2 separate regions of the Homo sapiens genome follow, and region 1 is linked to region 2. The links are contacts of gene promoters, found by promoter capture Hi-C in blood cells and fetal thymus (Javierre and others, 2016). All regions are on one chromosome and are shown on one strand. The core of a region is centred on a gene start or on the middle of the fragment in contact, and the rest is flanking DNA. Distances in the headings are between cores, read along the strand shown.

Region 1 (5,142 bases), core at 2,540-5,039, 660 kb before region 2:
CACAGTGTTTATACTCAGACATATAATTCTAAATGCTTGTAAAAAGTGCACTAATGCTTTAAACATGATTTGTTTTTATCTTTCTTTAAAAAAATCATACTAAGCTGATGTTTAAATGATTTTGAGAAAGCAATAATCCATGCGTTAATTTACCTGCCTTTATTCTCATAGCTAATGAACTGTCTTCTGCCTCTATCTCCCTTCACTTTTCCCAAATTATCAGTAAATATGGAGTTAAACCGAAGTTTTAATGTATTTGTAAGCAATTATTTCTAATTATTTCCCCTTGCATATTATTATATCCTTTCAAAAATTTCCACATCATATGTCAAATCAAAGTACTAATAAGTATATACTTACAAGGTATATATGATGCCATGGTTATAAGAAGAAAATAATAGTAGTCAAAAGAGACATTGTATTTGTTAGGAAGTCTTATTGAAAACATTCCTGTTTTCTTCACATGCGGCAAGGCAGCGTATATTGTAAGAAGTTCACCAGCAACTCCAACAGGATATAAGATGATAAAAAAATTATATCTGGAGAAAGAAAAACCTCAGAGAATTATTTTTCTACAATAATTATTAGACTTTACATTGCAGGTCTATTGCTACTACTAAATTTAAACTTCAAAATTCTCTTTTCTTTACATATTTACAATAACCTTACGTAAGGTTAATAGTTCTACTTTAATCATTTGCTTATTGATTATCATCCTTTTTTTCCTAATACCAGTTTCCATAATAGGCAATGTCTTTTTAATAAAATAGTATCAACTTATTTTAGAGTACCAAAATACTTTTATGTATTAAAAAATGTATATGTAGTTTTTCTTGTTTTTGTTTTGAGATGGAGTTCGCTCTTGTCACCAGGCTGGAGTGCAGCGGCACAGTCTTGGCTCACTGCAACCTCCACCTCCTGGGTTCAAGTAATTCTCCTGCCTCAGCCTCCCAAGTAGCTGGGATTACAGGTGTGTGCCACCATACCCAGCTAATTTTTGGTGTTTTTTTTTTTTGTTTTTTGTTTTTTTTTGAGATGGAGTCTTACTCTGTCGCCTAGACTGGAGTGCAGTGGCACAATCTTGGGTCACTGCAACCTCCACCTCCCGGGTTCAAGCAATTCTCCTGCCTCAGCCTCCTGGGTAGCTGGGACTACAGGCGCCCGCCACCACGCCCGGTTAATTTTTGTATTTTTAGTAGAGACAGGGTTTCACCATGTTGGTCAGGCTGGTCTTGAACTCCTGCCTTCAGGTGATCCACCCGCCTCAGCCTCCCAAAGTGCTGGGATTACAGACATGAGCCACCATGCCCGGCCTATGTAGCTTTAAAAAAAGTATTGTAATGGTAACTTCTTTGGTGCATAAAATCACAAATGACTGCTTTTGTCCGCGGCAGCTAGTAATTTATTGATCAAACACTGCGTTTAAAAAGACCAGTGATTATCCTAAATTTTATATCTAAACCTTGAAATTACCAAGGTAGTTATTTTTAAGAGGCATTTGAAAAAGTCTTTGTGGTTACTAATGAAAACCAATTATTGCAGAAAACTGATAATACCACCTGAAGCATGAGTAGCTACTAATGAGTATATTATATTGTCTAAAACTGCTACCGTAACAAAATAAATTGACAAGTTAGTTCCTGAATTCCCACATTAAAAGAAGAGTGAGCTTGTTTAAAGTAGAGTTAAGAAAGTTCTACTCTAAATCCAAAGTCATCATGTGTTCATTTGGTCTGTGGCAAGGTCTGGAACACACAGTAGGCCAGGCATCCTGTATGCTTCCAATTAGGAAACACTCTGTGTTCTACTGGCTGGTCTCCAATAAGAGGGGCCTAAAGGATCCAAGATGATCATATTTCTTCATTAAAAAAAAAAATCATTTTTCTCTGACTCAGTCACTATATAACAGTTACCACAGAAAACTTAAGAGGCCAGAGTGCAAGACCACTCTGGGCGATATAGTAAGACCCCGTCTCACAAAAAAAAATTTAATGAGCAGACCACAGTGGTGCATGCCTGTCGCCCCAGCTACTTGGGAGGCTAAGGCAGGAGGATTGCTTGAGCCTAGGAGGTCAAGGGGGCAGTGAGCCAAGACCGCACCACTGTACTCCAGCCTGGGTGACACAGCGAGACCCTGTCTCAAAAAAAATAAATTTAATTTAAAAAAAGAAAAATGTTTTTAATTTAAAACAAAAGGTCAACATTTTGATGGAAAAAGAAATCAAATTAATCTGTATTTTATTTAATCATTTTGTTGGCATTAGGAAATATCTATAAAGAAAAGTCAAAGTTGTCAGTATTGAAGAAGCTTGGAGACAAATTAAAAATTGCATTATTCCTGTATGTCAAGGATATGCGAAGATAAGAGATGGGGAGAAGGGCAGAATTATTTGCCAAAATAGATGAGCTATTCAAGAAAGAAGAATGATTCCTTCACTGTACCTGTTAATCCCTTCTTGGCCTTGGAGAAACTCCCTGCTTTCTTACCAGTTTTGGGTAGTTATTTGTGTATCATTTAAATCAATCTTTCCCTATTCCTCAATTTATTAAATCCCATAACTGGACATTTTATATACCTGTCTCAGTAAAATACCCAAACTGATTAAGTTGCAATTTTTACTTTATGTGGTTTTCAAAAGATTTTTTTTTTTTTTGGCAGGATTGTTCTTCAATAGAAGAAAAAATTAACACTCCTACAATAAGCTAGTTGAAAGTCTTAAGGGCAATGAAAATTTCTAATGAAATGGGAACAAATTATATAATTTGACTTTACTTGCACTTCAAAAAGATTGCATGTTACTACTTCTCTAAGTTCTGAGGGCAGTATGGGAGATTTAACTATGGATAGACCACATTAAAAAAAAAGATACAATGCTTCTTTGAAGGTTCCCAATTACTATCTAAAATTTTTTTGAAGGGAGTGCATTTTAAATCAATATGAAAAACCTAACTTAATATATACAATTACCTATTCTGAGGACTTTTCCAAGAACACTTATGACACATAAATAGAATCAAAGTATATTCAAACTGTAACAATAGGCCAAACTACTTATAACTAAGAAGCCATTTCTAAAGTGTAGTTTTATTCGAGAATGACAGCTTCAACATCTGAACATAAATACAAATATTATTTTACCTTACTTAATGGAGTTGGGAAACATATTTAGATGGCTGGGATTTTTAAGATCTTTTTGACATGAAACATAATTATTTATGATTATGATCAACTGACAAAGTATTATGTAACATATGATTTCAAAGCTGAAAGACTGTATAACTTGTTTAACATTAAGGCAATGGATAAACACTTTCTTCTTTTGAGACAGAGTCACGCTGTGTCACCAAGCTGGAGTGCAGTGGTGTGATCTCAGATCACTGCAACCTCCACCTCCTAGTTCAAGCAATTCTCCTGCCTCGGCCTCCCAAGTAGCTGGGATTACAGGCACATGTGGCTAATTTTTTAATTTTTTAGTAGAGATGGGGTTTCACCATGTTGGCCAGGCTGATCTGGAACTCCTGACCTCAAGTGATCCGCCCACCTTGGCCTCCCAAAGTGTTGGGATTACAGGCATGAGCCACCACGCCCAGCCTGCAATGGATAAACACTTTCTAAACAGCAAATTTAAACATACGATGGCAGAGTTTTTATCTTTTCCAGACACTCAAGACATGCAAATGCATTCCAAAAGACAGACACACAAAGCCATCAAGTCTAATGTGCCAACCTCAGGAAAATATGCAATGTACATTCTGCTATCCTCTTCAGACAAATTTTGTAAATTCAGCACATGAAAAGAGACTATATGGTAAGTTAGTATTTTCAAAGGTGCCAGAGGTCCAGAACATTGTCATGCGAAATGATATTGATGTGTTCTAGGATTAGAGTCCAGCTACATTCAAAACTGCCAACCTTTAAAAAGCTCAGTCACTAAAGGTAAACACATTTTCATGTACAGTAAGATTAAAACCAACCAAATCCATATAAATGGTAGTACAACCTTCTTATGACAGACAAGACACTTAAGCTCAAATTATAATTTCAAAGTATCTCATCATATACAAAGTGGTAAGCCGCAAGTGTCTAAAAAAGAGCTAGAGAATATTAAAAAGTCACAAAGAGTATATAACATGGCCAGGCGCAGTGGCTCACACCTGTAATCCTAGCACTTAGGGAGGCCGAGGTGGGTGGATCACTTGAGCTCAGGTGTTCGAGACCAGCCTGGGCAACATGGTAAAACCCCATCTCTACAAAAAATACAAAAATTAGCCAGGTGTGGTGGCCTGCACCTGTACTCCCAGCTACTTGGGAGGCTGAGGCAGGAGAATCGCTTGAGCCCAGGTGGTGGATATTGAAGTGAGCCGAGATCGTGCCACTATCCTCCAGCCTGGGTGACAGAATGAGACCCTGTCTCAAAAAAAAAAAAAAAAAAAAGAGAAAAAAACCCATAAAACACAATTAACAGTGGTTATCCTTGGTTAGAGAGATTATAAGTAATTTAAAAGTGGTTTTCCTTCTTTTTGGTTTATATATTCTCATTTATTATATTTGAACATGTATAATACTTGGGATTAAAAAATAGTAATTGACCAGGCATGGTGGCTCACACCTATAATCCCAGCATTTATCACCACCTGACATATCACATATTATTAGTTTATGTTTTGTCTTCATCATAAGACAGAGAATTTGTTTTGTTCATACCTACATCTCAGGCATGCAGTAGGCACACACCATTTGTCATTGTTATTGCTACCATAAAGTACAATACAAAGAATAAAATGAACAAGTCTATACTGATTTGTGACTTGTTCTCCAAAGAGCAGTTTTGCTTTTATAATAACTTTCTAAAACGTCAATTGCTCAAAGAATTCAAACTTCAAGAAGAACAGATATCTTTTCCTTTAAAAACTGTTGCTTTAGGATATATTTGGAGCCCTTCAAATATAAATTTTATCCACATTCCAAATAATACAATTTTAAGTAAGTGTGACTTTTAAAAATGTCTCTGCAACTTAAAGCAAAGAAAAAAACCAATCGCATTGTGTAAATGGTATAAATTGTGGCTGCTAGATTGACTATTAAAATAATTTACATCACAGACAAAAAAAAAACATATTTTTGGTACTGCTTATGTAAGC
Region 2 (5,224 bases), core at 561-3,060:
GCACTCCAGTCTGGGTGACAGAGTGAGACTCTGTCTCAGAAAAAAAAAAAAAAAAAAAAATTAAGCAGGTGTGGTGGCATGCACCTACAATTCTAGCTACTTGGGAGTCGGAGGTGGGAGGACTGCCTGAGCAAGGCAATCAAGAGTTCAAGGCTGCAGTGAGCCATGATTGCACCACTGCACTTCAGCTTGGGCAGTAGAGTAAGACCCTATCTCAAAAAAGCCTTGAGAAAATACTGGTAAAGTGTTGAGAATTAATTGTCTTTTATTTTTCCAGGAGCCTAAAGGATGTAGTGGTGGTTAATCTGTGACATGAAATCATTAACATACCTTCTTAGGTCTCAACAGAATATGGAATGACTTGGGCATGGGTGCAAATTTGGATCAATATCTGTGACACACTAAAGATATTGCGTATTAGAATGGCTGATATCATACCAATGAACAGCTGAATCTCCACATGTCTTAATGATTCATCTTTTTAGGTGTGACATTTACATGGTCTTTAGGGAGAATATTAGGATCAGCTCAGTCCCTGAAAACTGGGTCTTTAGGGAAAGATCTAAATAATAGCTTACAAAGAATATTGACTTGGGAGCTCTCACACTTGGAAGGCAGCCTTATGTAGTTTATTATATCTAAATCATAGGTGGTATGAGATCTAATGAATTAATGAGGTCTGAGTCGGATCAAATTCGCCTTCCAGAGTTATGTTTATTTAACATGCTTTAACCCAGAAAATGAACATTTGCCAGCGAGCACCAAACAACTGTGCGCCGCAGTGCTTGAGCGAGTCAGGTCCTGAGGCCACTCTGGCGATCCTCCTTACAATTCATGTGAAATACCTACTGCAGGACAAAGCATCTGACGGTTTGGAGGATGTTTCTGTAGTCCTAGGAATCCACAGTGAATTCGAGTCTAGACTCAGTCATTTTTCAGGGTCAGGGGAGGAGGGAGAAGTAGCAAATCAGATATGCCCAAAACGTTACAGAGGTAACAGTGAATCCAGGATGCTGCTGTCAGCCTGTGCATTGTGAAGAAGGCAATCATAGGCGAGCAGCCGCGGGAGCAGGAACAGCAGCGTGCTAAGAAGCAGTCACATAAACAGCAGCAGGAGTAGGCCTCCTGCTTTTCAAAAGCAGAGTACTGCAGGGTCGCGAAATGCAAGACACTCAGATGTTTGAAAATCTCCCGAGTTGAGAATGGCTACTGTAAAAGCGTCACCAAGAAACTCTGACGATCTGGACAGTCCTAACTCTGTGTTAGCAATACTTACTTCCGGAAAATTAATGCTACTTCTTGTAGATTTTTGCAAATAGGAAACCCCCTTGAAGAAGATCTCAAATTACGCCCCCCACCCCCAAAAAAAGACAAACAGGGGAGAACAAAGTTTTGGCATGCCTGCAGGAACGGTGGCTTTTTTAGAAACTACCTAGGAGGCAGAAGCTAAGTGATTTGCTCATGCCTCTTACCTGGGAGTAGAAGGTGGGAAGAAATGGACCGAGGCTGTGACGAGAAGACAAGGCACAGTGCAGCTTGGTGAAGCCACACGCTGACTGCGTTCTGCCCCCTCTTCATGCAGTGCTGCGGGCTGGTGCATCGCCGGCGAGTACGGGTGTCCTATGTAAGTTTCTATTGCTGTAGAATTGCAGCTGGGAGCTGAAAATACTATTCGTGTCTGTCTGGTGCATGTTGCCTCTTTCAGCTGTTTTTATTCCCTGTGCTGAACCAACCAGACAGTCGATCATTTCGTACCATGAGTTTTCAAGGAATCTGAGGTATAGGAGATTCTGAGATATTTATTTTTTCCCAGAGATGTTTTTATCTGTCTTTTGTGCCTTGTGACTTTGATAAGGTTGGAAATAACTTGCGCGGGGATTGGTTTGAGAAGTCCATTGTCTCAGAGATCTGCCTCATTCAAACCAGTTGATACTCTCTTTTACCTAGAGTAGTCCTGTTTTCATATTTGAATGATGGGATGGTGGGGGGAAGAAATACCACGGAGTTTGACAAATTATAGATAGGCGCAGAGGCTAACACTAAATCCTATTTTGAGCAGCTTCAGAAAAATAGTAGATAATAATCACTGGATGGATGACACAGCTGTTGCAACAGCTTTATCATCCTGTGACTCTTTCACTGAAATAGCCCTTATTTCATGGCCCTGCTGTGTTTTGCAAAATGGCTGTCTGAGTATTAAATTCTACAAGGCAGGCTCACACAAATATTGAAGTGTATCACTACTTAACATGATTGGATGCTAATTGCAATATGCTGTGCCTTACACTAGCCGACCAGCTCCGAGCAAGCGCTGGCTTGATTTTCATACTCCTTTTGCGAGCAGCTACTCTATTTTCAGGAAGGGTTGTAAAAGGGAACAGGAGGTTTATGCAGGCTGGGCAAACTGCAGTGCTGAATTGCTTAACACTGGTTTGACATTCCTGACTGCAAAACAAATAGAAAATTGACAAAGCAAGCTAATCAATACTTAAAGTATTGAAGGTAAAGAAACCCGTGACCTTGGAAAATTGGCCACAGAAAAGAGATATATGTGAGACTTACAGGACAAACAAGGTCAAAATCTGATATGATCTCAATAATAAAGTTGGAAATGGTGACGGGGTGGGGTGGGAGGGCAGGGAGAGATAACTATACTGTCAAACCTTAAAGAGAGTATTCAATTTTATTAAATAAGTAAAAGCATGAAAAACCCCTTTTATTTAAAGGTTTTTGCAGTTGTTACATATTTGGTGCCATTTGTCTTTTGAATGCAACAGTTGACATATCAGAAATCAATGGAGGAGTCAGGTAGCCAGCCAAGATTTCTAAAGACGACATCTGCAGGGATAGATGGTTTTTATCCAGTCAAAAAATTAATTGCTTTTTAAATAAGATTTGGGAATAAGTGTTACAAACTTTTTAGAGTATAAGATTAGCCGCCTAAAGAAAACCTTAAGTTAAAAACAAAAATAATTTTAATTTAAAAATCCATAGTTTCTAGAATAGTGAAGAGTGAGAATTTCTTAGCTTTCTGTGTTTCTGTTTATTCTTGTATAATGAATTAGAAGAAATCCATGGTTATGTGTGCCTATTGAATACAAAAATTCTGAAATAAGGCCTCCAACAAAGCAACAAATTTTTACCCTACTTATTTTAGTTCTTCTTCTTACATTGAACATGTAAATAAATAGAAAGAAGAGACAACATAATCTGGATTTTTGAAGTCTTGATTGAAAGCTACAGAGACTTGGTTCATCTGCTCATTCTCAAATATTTTTACCCTGTATTTTGAATAAAGTACCACAAAATATAGAGCACAGATGTCTTTTAAAGATAAAAGAAATGCATACCCTTGGTCACTAGAAATAAATTTTCGTTTACTTTAGAGTGTTTTTCTCTTGGGAAGCCTTACCTCTAACCCACCTGCTGCTGTTTTAACCTCTCTTCTTTGACACTTTATGGATTGCAGTTTTCTTTACAGATGGCCAACCCAGAGTGGAAGATAGGTTAAATCGAAACCTATTTTTTTCCTTGAAGGAAAAGAACCCACTGTGCATCTATCTGTAACGGAGACTTTAGATTTGACCGCAAAGCAGATGAGTCTAGAGGCTGCTCATTGAATACAAAGGGCAGCCAGACCCCTATGTGGTACTGGTGGTTAGGACCTCGTCATACTGGTTGGGCTGTCCTGGTGTCCTTTCTCAAATCTGTTGTCAGTTTCCAGGAATCACAATTCTGGTAATACTGGAACTAAATGTCAATATTTATATACATACATGTATGCATATATCTGTTAGATCTAATTACATAAATAATATATTTTAGATGTAATATAAATCAATTGATAAATATGCACCTGTGTGTGCATGTGTCTTAATCTTTCACTAGTTCTTATACCTTTTCTTTTTAGTATGACAGCTTTCTTAAGAATTCCTCCTACTCAAACATTGTCTCTCAGAAAGAATATGAAAGTTATGTGGGTTTCAAAGAAAGTTATACTCATATGCCATAGTTCTTTATTTCTAGGTTTTTACCTTTCTAAGCTGTTGCTTTTATTAGGTTGCCTCCGCTCACTTGTTTAACGTTACATTCAGATTCAAAACTTCTCTGAGCAGTGGGCTCACAGAAGTAGGCTGCAGACTGTAGTCCTGTCTTGCTCTTTAAGACTCAATGCATAAGCTTTATTCTTGACATTATTATTGATGTTCAATATCTAGTCTTCATTCTTTTGTTTACTCCTAACCATCATTCTTTTAGAACTCAGCTTCGCAGCTCAGAAGTAATTCCTGTGTTTACCTAAACTGTCTTGCTATTTCGTTAAGGACATGAAAATCTGTGAGCTGAATAAATACTCTTAAATTTAAAAGGATATATAAACATGGTAAGCTCTGTGTGCATTTCTGTGAAACACTTCTCAAGTATTGACATTTGCATGCTTTGGAGAGCAGAGACACTAACTCTTTTTGGTAAGCTTTTTGAAAAAATGTTTTAATTTTTGTGGGTACATAATAGGTGTATATATTTATGGGGTACATAAGATGCTTGGATACAGGTATGCAATGCATAATAATCTCATCATGGAAAATTGGGTATCCATCCCATCAAGCATTTATCCTTTGTGTCACAAACAATCCAATTATACCCTTTTAGTTATTTTAAAATGTACTATTATCGAAGTATAACATACATGCAGAAAAGTGGGTGCAGAAATTATATAAGCATTGAGCTTGAAGAATGTTCTCAAAGCAAACATGCCTTTGTAACCAACACTCAAATCAAGAAACCAAGCATTGTGAGCAACCTTCTCCTCCCTTCCAATTCCAGCTGTCTCCCACCTCCCCCAGGGTACCCACTAAACAGACTTCTAACATGGTGGATTGGTTTTTCCTGTTTCTGAATTTTATTCAAATGAACTCAAACAGCATGTACTCTCCTCTCATCCAGCTTGTGTTGCTCACCATTGTATTCATGATATTAACCCACGTGGCTGCACATAGTTAAAGCTGCAATTTCTCGTGCTCACGGTTGTACAGTATTCCATTGTGTGGCTCTGTGATGACTTAGTGATCCATGCTACTGTTGATGGGCATTTGGGTAGTTTCCAGTTTGGGGCTATCATAAATAGTGCTGTTATAAACAGTTGGGACATGCCATATTGTGAATGTTTATGTATGCATTTCTCTTGGATGCAAACCAAGGAATGAAACTGCCAAGTCATAGGGTA

Evidence for each region. Contacts are between HindIII fragments. The CHiCAGO score rates a contact against its expected background, and 5 or more counts as called.
Region 1: a fragment that was not itself captured here is called in contact with the fragment with the promoter of CACNB2-AS2 in region 2 in 1 of 17 cell types (M1 macrophages); the score reaches 5.0 in M1 macrophages.

The regions. Positions count from the first base shown.
Region 1 is chr10:17,593,845-17,598,986 of GRCh38, forward strand. It overlaps HACD1 (3-hydroxyacyl-CoA dehydratase 1), which reads right to left. Exons shown (of 7, transcript NM_014241.4): 6 at 361-539. Among named protein-coding and RNA genes, the nearest start is that of HACD1, 21 kb to the right of the region's middle. The HindIII fragment of the contact is 2,967 bases long and covers 2,307-5,142 here.
Region 2 is chr10:18,259,694-18,264,917 of GRCh38, forward strand. It overlaps CACNB2-AS2 (CACNB2 antisense RNA 2), which reads right to left and starts at 1,811. Exons shown (of 2, transcript XR_001747681.2): 1 at 1,473-1,811. The region is part of intron 2 of CACNB2 (calcium voltage-gated channel auxiliary subunit beta 2); the gene reads left to right. The HindIII fragment of the contact is 4,399 bases long and covers 1-4,177 here.